2 separate regions of the Homo sapiens genome follow, and region 2 is linked to region 1. The links are contacts of gene promoters, found by promoter capture Hi-C in human tissues and cell types (Jung and others, 2019). All regions are on one chromosome and are shown on one strand. The core of a region is centred on a gene start or on the middle of the fragment in contact, and the rest is flanking DNA. Distances in the headings are between cores, read along the strand shown. Region 1 holds the start of C8orf48 (chromosome 8 open reading frame 48). Region 2 overlaps LONRF1 (LON peptidase N-terminal domain and ring finger 1).

Region 1 (4,549 bases), core at 1,510-4,009:
GCAAAAAAATAGCTATTAAAGTAGAAGGCAGCTATTCACAAGGCAATTAATCAATTTCAGAAAAAAGATAATAACACCAAAGATGCAGAAAACAGAATAGAAAGATGGAGATAATTGTGAGGTAAAAACATTTTACAGATAAAGAACAAGTACTGAACCACAAAAAAATTGAACAACTATAAATAAAATCATTTTTCATCTTGAGTGATATACGATTCTTTCCTTCACAAAAATGGCCATTACAGTGAGATTCTTGTCACATTCAACTTAGCCCCCTAGGAGAACAGCTAAACATTTCATCTTGCTGCATCTACAGAACCAAGCACAGCGTTACTTGAGAAGTTGATGTAAAGGGTAGAATATTTTTGAAGGCTCTGTCATCGTAGTCTCTCTTATACTTAAACTAGACTCCCACTTTGTACACTGCACACCACCAGGAAGAGGTACCTGCCAAATGCCAACTCATCATGGAAACGTTTATGATATCTGGGGGGAGAATTGCTTGCCAGAGTGACAGATGCTGAAAGTTTGCTTTTCTCCCTCCATAGGAAAGGAAAGCAAGAGAGAAGGGGAATCATGAATTTGTTTTGACTTCCTCTTTCTGGGGTTGGCCTTATAGCTGCAAAGCATTCTTGATCATTAAGGAAAAAGCTGGGAGAAGACCCTTGGCCCTGCTCTCTGATAGGAACTAGGAAGAAGAGAAAGTAGCTGCAGAACAGTAACAGGAGGGGCATAGCAAGGTTAGGCCAAGAGAGCCTGACTGGACTCTCTTTTCTATTCTTCATATCTCCCAATCCCCACCACAAGCAGCCTTCAGCCACAGCTTGGTCCACAAAGCATTTTGACATTCCCAACAGCCCCTGAGAGATGGCAAGAAGATTGAGATTTCCAAAGGAAAACTATTACTCTTCATATTTGTTTAAAATCAAACTTTGACCTGTGTTTTCATGAATCTTATTTGATAAATATAGTACTGTTGAGAAATTTTCTTCCTTAGATAACACACTTACTAGAATGTAAAACTGTCCACTGGGTCACGCTGAATATTACAAGGAAATTAATTATAGAATTTCCCACCCACATATATCTCCTTCTAGGATAAAGTTATTTTTAAAAATCAAGAGAAATTTAAGACACGATTATAAAAAAGACAGATTACCCCAGACATTTGGCATGTTAGAAGACACAGATAGATTTTATTTTAAGTATAGCTCCCTTGTTCAATGTTATGGATAAGATATAGCTAAAACATGAATAGTGTGTAAATATGAATGTGTAAATATTCAGAGAATGAGGCAGAGATTTGAAATAATAAATAAGGAAAATATTGAGCCCTATTGGAAATTACTTGGAGTTACTCACAAATTACATGCCACCTCTTTTTTAAAGACTACCATTATATGATAAAATAAAATTTGGGTTGAATAAATGAAGTTGGAGTCTCCTTATCTTCAACAGGAAGCTGGCTCATATACTTGAGAGATGCTTTTTGAATATTTGACTTTCACTTTTTGCCAGAATGAACATTTGGGGAATATATCTGGCTAGACCTGAATAATACCCCCCAATCCCCAAGAAACACAGGAAGAAAGAGAGAGAGAGACAAAACTGAGAAAGAAGGGTGTCTAGGCTCTTAAAATTATCCTAGACATTGACTAAGTCCTAGACTCAAGAACTATTATAACCTAGGAAAAGTCCATCTCTAGAGTTAACATTTTATAATTTCTCACGATAATTAATAAAACTCTACTGTGTTTTTTAAATGAATCCATTAATAAAAAATATATCCTGTGTAATAGCCTAAGTTTGGGGATTCAGTTAGAAAAAAGGTTAGAGTTCCCTGAACTTATAGTACTTATTTCTCCAAATCCTCTGGACGTGTGTAAGGTAAGATTTATTTGTTCCATAGCCATTCACTCAACAGAGATTTCTTGAACACCTGCTATGTGTCTGCTGATTGCTGGGCTCATACTAGTCGGCAACACCGACATGATTTCTGCCTTCAGCCTTCATAATCAGATACTCATACAATCACATAGTTGGACACTATTTAAAAAAAAATGCTGGAAAGAGTTTAAGGCAGGGGTGGGTATTAAGCCCTTCCTGAGGAAATGGGACTCGGAGGAGGAGGATAAATTAACGATATTAAGAGTGAGGACGGGCGTGGATATGCTAGCCAGAGGGGACCTGTATGGACAAAAGGCCAGAGAAACTGATTTGGAAAATTAAGGTCCTCCCCCGCCCCTGCTCCCCACCCCCGACCCCGCCCAAACTTCGAGGTCCTCAGAATGCTGGAGCACAGAACACTACTTCTTACAGAATGGTTTCTGTATTTTGACTTTTCCCCAAAGACATGCTCTACAAGGAGGTGTCTCTTGGCTATAAACACTGCAGACAAGTTTTTGCTTGTGCATCTTGTCCAGCGCGTTTTGCTTGATTTTTAAATCTAGATGCATTTAGGCGGGCGTACACGTTCGGATTTGTCACAGGCCACCTAACTCTATTGGTCTCACACACGTGTGCCACCTGTCTGACCCCTGGGAAACAGAGTTTGCAAGGTTTTCCCGTTGACTACTCGACTTTAGCACCAAAGAGAAGCAGGAGTGCAGAAGACAGGGCAAAATCGCCAACCCGGCGCAAGCAGCGCAAGCGCAGTGGGCGCTGGGGAGCGCGGAGGAAAAGGCGGGACGCCGCATGGTGGCCAGTCACTGCGCATGAGCGGCCCGCGTTGCCAAGACAGCTGGGAAGGCGTCTCCCGGAAGACGACCTCCGCAGAGCTGATGGCATTGAGATCCATTCCCGGAGGGGTCAGCTCCTGACGGGTTCCTGAGCCAGTCTTAACCTGGGCAAAGGAGATGAGGAGCCGAGCCTGATGCATTGTGATGGCCATCTGCCCAGAATTGGCCCAAACGGACAAAAGTGCTCTTGCAAACCTTTCTGATGAGACTGAGACTTTGAAGAACTCTACTGATGAGGTACAGACTTCCAGCTCATTCAGCTCCTCTGGAGGACGGCAGTCCTCGCCCCTGACCTCTGGGAGCAAACTGGAGAGGGAAAAGCAGACTCCAAGCTTGGAACAAGGAGACACACAATCTGAGCTTTTGGACTATAAAAATTATGAAAAGAAGTTGAGTAAAAAATGGATCAACTACCTCAAGCTCAAAGACTCTAACTTTGAACGGCACCAACCAGACACCAAACTTCCAACAGAAATCACTCGGGTATCAGATGAAGAATTGAATGCCCTGCAGTCTTATTGCACCATGAAGATAAATTTGATTCATCGTAGAGGGGATTCTAAGAAGAAGACGAGCAGCAGACATAAAAAGCTGCATCTTGGATTGGATGTAGAGGCTTCAGAGAGAGATGCCTTTAGTTGTACTGTACCCGATGAACTTTTGAACAGAATCTACTTTAAAAACATGAGGACAACGCCAAAACAGGAGGCAGCAGCTAAGCAACACATATCTTATCAGTGTCCCTATTGTAACAGGAAAAGAGCGGAGCTGGCCCTGTCTGCCTTTCTGAAACAAAAGAAGACTTTACTGGAGTCATTTCTACTCCAAGAGAGAATAGATGAACATCTTCATACCAAAGACTTTCTCACCCGTATTGGAGAAGCACATCAAGACTTTCCCAGGCTTTCAGATGACCCCAGAATAATCTGGAAAAGACTGACTGAGAAAAGTCATATCAGATACTCTGGTTTTGAAAGATCAGAGACAGAGCAGAAGTTGCAGCGAGATGGAAATAGTGCTTGTCATTTACCATTTTCTCTGCCATTTCTCAAGCGACTTACTCTAATCAAACCAGAGCTGGTGATTGTTAATGATAATGTGTAATGTGGATAGATGTCTTTGTTGTGTATTTGAGTAATTACCATAATTTCTACAGGCACTTGGGAAACTAACTTAAGACTTTACTATGCTTCCTTCACAGATTTGAGGACTAAGAACTTTCACTTTTTTTTTCCTATTATAGAAGGCACTGTTGTAGTTGGAATAGTTATAAAAACTTTTACAAAATTCCAAGAGAACTATGTTGGTAGTTTGGGCCAGGATGTTGATGGTACAGAAGCAAAGTAGTATGGGGATGTAAGAGAAACTTAAAAAGTAATAACTGTCTTTGGCGATCAAATGGCTATGGGGAATTAATAAATAGTAGATGTTTGAAATGTTATTAAGGCTCTGACTTGTGCGCCCGGATGAATGATCATTAATTTCATTAAGACAGGAACACCAGAAGAGGACTATGTTTGATGGAACTGTTGAAGAGTATGATTATTTGGACATATAAGGTGCATTTGGGACATACACATTGACAGTTTGAAGAAACATTTGATTATTTGTTTTTGCGCTTCAGAGGAAAGGTATAGCCTAGAGGTGCAAAATAAATTGGGGTAGGACTGGGGGAAGGGTGGGGATCAATGGCATATAGCTGGAAGTTGAAGCCGTAGATTGTCAAGCGTTTTTGGAAATGAATAAGAAGAGAAGCAGGGTTGATACAAACTCTTGAGAAATGCCAATTAATGGCTAAGTAGAGAAAAATA
Region 2 (4,179 bases), core at 330-2,829, 820 kb before region 1:
TTTATAACTGCTGTGAGGATTGAATAAGATAATGCATGTTAAACAGTTAACACCAAACCTAAGACATACATGCTCCATCTATAATAATTGTTGATAACATTCCAAAATATCTCAAAACAAAGTGATGAAGATATTAGATTAACCCTTGATACAAGATACAGAAGAGTATTTTCTACCTTGTCTTTTACCCACATAAATGGTAGCCTAGATAAGAAACATCTTTAGGGATCAGGAGAGCAGACTGGACAACAGACAGCACAAAGGTGGGTCAAGGGGATGGGAAGCAAAAGACCTTACCAAAGGGAAAGAAAAAACCAAACAGAAGCTTCCATCTTGCATTTTAGAGTTCCCTGAAGTCATTCAACTTCAATAATAAAACAATTCCAATTTTGAGAAATACCTTTGGAAAGAGGCAGAACACTATACAAATTCATTTAAAATTTTACTCGAGATTTTCCAAGGCTCTTAGAAATATTCCAACAAACAGAAAAATGATTCTGAATAAACAAAAAGTTAATATATAAATAACTAGAAATCTAAGATAATTCAGTTTTGGTAAATTCTGCATTTGATGAATGAAAAACAGTTAAAAAACAAATTATTCATTTGAAATGGGACACTTGAATCAGTTTTTTTATCATTTATATCAAAAGCCATTACAGTTGATCTTTTTAGTAACCCTGAGGCACTAAGAAAAAAAATCCTTAAAGTACCTTATGAATCAAAGAAAATAATTAGAGATATAGTCTCGGTTAAGTAGAAGCCAATTAAGCAGTAAACCCCATTTTCTAGGGATTTTCAATTTGCTGCAATTACAAAAGAAACAAAAAATACAAACTCTACAAGGACAGGGACTTTATTTTACTCCTTTTTTATATTTCTAGCACCTAAAACAATGCCTGGTATATAGTAGCTACTCAATAAAAATTTGCTGAATAGTAAGAATATTTTAGATTTATGTTTTGCGTGCTAATTTTTAAATCAACTTTGTGTTTTGAATCAATATGCACATATTTGGGTTCTGCTTTCAGTTTTAACTTGGTCACTTACTTCCCTTAAGAAAGTCACCCAAAATTCTTGCAACTTTTCTTACATCTGTGAATTAGGGATATTAATACTTGCCCTCCTATCTCACATGAGTTTGTGTATGGATCAATTACGATAATAGAAATGAAAATAATTGTGAACTATAATCACCATACAGACATCAGTGTTTACTGTTTCAAGTCCTCTGCACAATAAGTAAGGACATAAATAAGTTAGCAAGAGCCTCCCTTTACCCAAGGGGGATACGTTCCAAGACTCCCACGGATGCCTGCAACTTCAGATAGTACCAAGCCCTATATATACTATCATACCTGTGATAAACTTTAATTTATAAATTAGGTGTAGTAAGACATTAGCAACAATAACTGATGATAAAATAGAACAATATAACAATATGCTGTGATAAAACGTACATGAAAGTGGTCTCTCAAAATATTTTATCATACTGTACCATGTGGGTAACTGAAACCACAAATAAGGGGAAACTACTGTATTGTTTAAATTCAAATTTCTTCATTTTAACCTAGTTGAGTTACTAAAGATAATAAAAACCCTCTACATTTTCTTTAAATGTATTCAGTATTTACCTATAATTTGACTGATCTTCTGATAGCTAAAGCTTTTAAGTATCTATAGTTTATTGATGAATGCTAAACTGCTAGTTAACATGTGTAAACTAAAATCGGGATGTAATTGTTACTCTCTACCAAGTGATAGAACAGAACAGGATGTAAAATTGCAAGGTTTAGATTCCACTTTCAGCAAAATCCCCTTCTAGCCGTAACACACTTCTACATTTTAAAAATATTGAATTAATATTTACTGGGCATTTACTCTGTGTCAGGCACTATTTAAAGCACTTAGCATGTTTTGACTCATTTGATTCTCACAACACCCTATGAGGTAGAGACTATTCTCATTTTTCAGATAAGGAAACCAAAACACAGATAGGTTAGGCAACGTGCACAAGGTCGGAGAGAGGCGAGGGCTGCGTCAGGATTGGAACCCAGGTGTCAGCTTCCAGCATGCAGAGCTTTAATCACTAAGCCACACTGCATGTCTATCCATAGATGCCTCAGTTTCCCTCTGAGGATAATATTACAGTACTCCATAGAATTCTCTGTGAAGATCAAATGATATTAATATAAATAATGTAAAAATACTGGGTAACAGTCAAGGATTATATTTTTATTTTTATGTTTTTTTTTTTTTTTTTTTTTTTTGAGACTGAGTCTTGCTCTGTTGCCCAGGCTGGATGGAGTGCAGTGGTGTGGTCTCAGCTAACTGCAACCTCCACTTTCCGGGTTCAAGCAATTCTGCCTCAGCCTCTGGAGTAGCGGGAACTACAGGCATGCACCACCACGCCTGGGTAATTTTTTGTATCTCTAGTAGATACGGGGTTTCACCATGTTGGCCAGGCTGGTCTCGAACTCCTGGCCTCATGCGATCCGCCCGCCTCGGTCTCCCAAAGTGCTGGGATTACAGGTTTGAGCCACCATGCCTGGTCAAGCATTACAGAATTAATATTAAAGACAAAATTTTCCTTACCCAAATATTTTAAAACAAAATATCACCCCCCCACCTTACAACCTTTTTTTTTTTTTTTAACCTGTACAAACTGTAAATTATACTGTTCTGTTGTCTTCCTCTGGGGGAGAGGTGAACACACGAAGGAGATAAGTCAGTGTAAAAAAACATTAAACACAAAAGGCAGGCAGCATGGCTTAGGGGGATCATTTCAGTAGGCTCAAGCACAGAGATTCAGTGCAGGAAAAACTTTACATAATATCCCTGAATACTAAAAAGACAGAAAGTTATGAAACATCTGAGAGTTAATACCAAAAGATCAATGGTTTAAATGTTATCTAAATATATTTCAATTCAACAGAAACTTATGTAATCTAAATGGGAAACTTCTGATTTTGGCAAAGGTTTTCAAGCTTTCTTTTGCTGCTGGCAGAGATAAGTTTGGATGTGTGTGGGCTAACTGCAGACTAGATTTTTTCTAGTTAATAGTATTTACTTGTTTCATTATAAGAATTATACGAAGAAATTATAGTGAAGATCTTTTTTCATTATCAACAATAATGACAAGATCATTAATAACTACAACCGTACAGTTATATAAATACATGTCAAATGCCTAGCTTGCCAATTCCAAAGAAGTTAAAGCCTAAGGATTGTACAAACAGCTTATGACTGTACTAGTTAACATTTTGATTTACACCCATAAATTGTGAGACACTTATAAATCGGCCCTTTACCAACTCTAATTTGTTAGCTCTGAGATTTTTTTCCTGTTAGTTCACATTAAGAATTCAAAAGATTAAAAAACTTATCCTCATTAGTGCCATTCAGACATTTTCAAGCATGGAATTAATGATTCTTGAAAGAACTAAAAATGAGGAAAAAATAAGCTAATGCAGTGAAAGTCAGAAGACTTGGGTTCTATTCCTGCAAAAGTAGAATGAAGTTGCTAAGTGGGCAAAATCCTCATGTGCAATCTATGCAACTTGAAAAAAAGAGAGATTACATCTTTCAGAGCCTTTTCCTGTTAAACATAATATCCTCGATCCAAGAACCAGAATCTCTGTTAACTAAAATATTATTGGTCACAGAATGTTAAGCTAGACCTCAATTATCAAAAGTGCTCACTGTTCTTCCATGGACCAGGACCTGGATTCTTGTGAAACCCCTAATTCAAGGTCAGATCACTAAATCAGCAGTACTGTCCATAAGGTTCAGCCTCAGTGACCAAAAAAACTTCCTTGGATATGTATACTAAACATGTGCTATAAGGCAGGATGAACCCTAGACCAACGTTTAGGAGAAGCGGAAGATACAGCACTGCCTCTCTACCAGTTAACAGTGTGACGGTGTGCAAGTCTTCACTGCCTGGCATCTGCTTCCTCGCTTTAAAAATCACACCATGGTCAGTTACTAGGTGGTCTGTACAACTGAGTCCAGTTTCTCTTCTCTTTATTCACCCAGAGAAGCAGAGTCATGTGTATCAGAATTCTGTATTCCAAATACTTTTTTTTTGTTCTGAGCCTACCTTTCTATTTTATACCTGCCTACTCCTCACGAAGGCACTGAAAGAATACAAAAATCTCCGGGGTTTGTGCTTCGAAC

What was found. Contacts are between HindIII fragments. The study calls those that stand out against the background at their distance.
Region 2: a fragment that was not itself captured here is called in contact with the fragment with the promoter of C8orf48 in region 1 in 1 of the 25 tissues and cell types used here (hippocampus).

What each region holds. Positions count from the first base shown.
Region 1 is chr8:13,564,110-13,568,658 of GRCh38, forward strand. C8orf48 (chromosome 8 open reading frame 48) reads left to right here and starts at 2,760. Exons shown (of 1, transcript NM_001007090.3): 1 at 2,760-4,179. The coding sequence starts at 2,883. The coding sequence ends at 3,842. It also overlaps a transcript of DLC1 not described here. The HindIII fragment of the contact is 18,894 bases long and covers 1-4,549 here.
Region 2 is chr8:12,749,051-12,753,229 of GRCh38, forward strand. All of the region lies in intron 1 of LONRF1 (LON peptidase N-terminal domain and ring finger 1), which reads right to left. Among named protein-coding and RNA genes, the nearest start is that of LONRF1, 4.4 kb to the right of the region's middle. The HindIII fragment of the contact is 4,489 bases long and covers 1-3,824 here.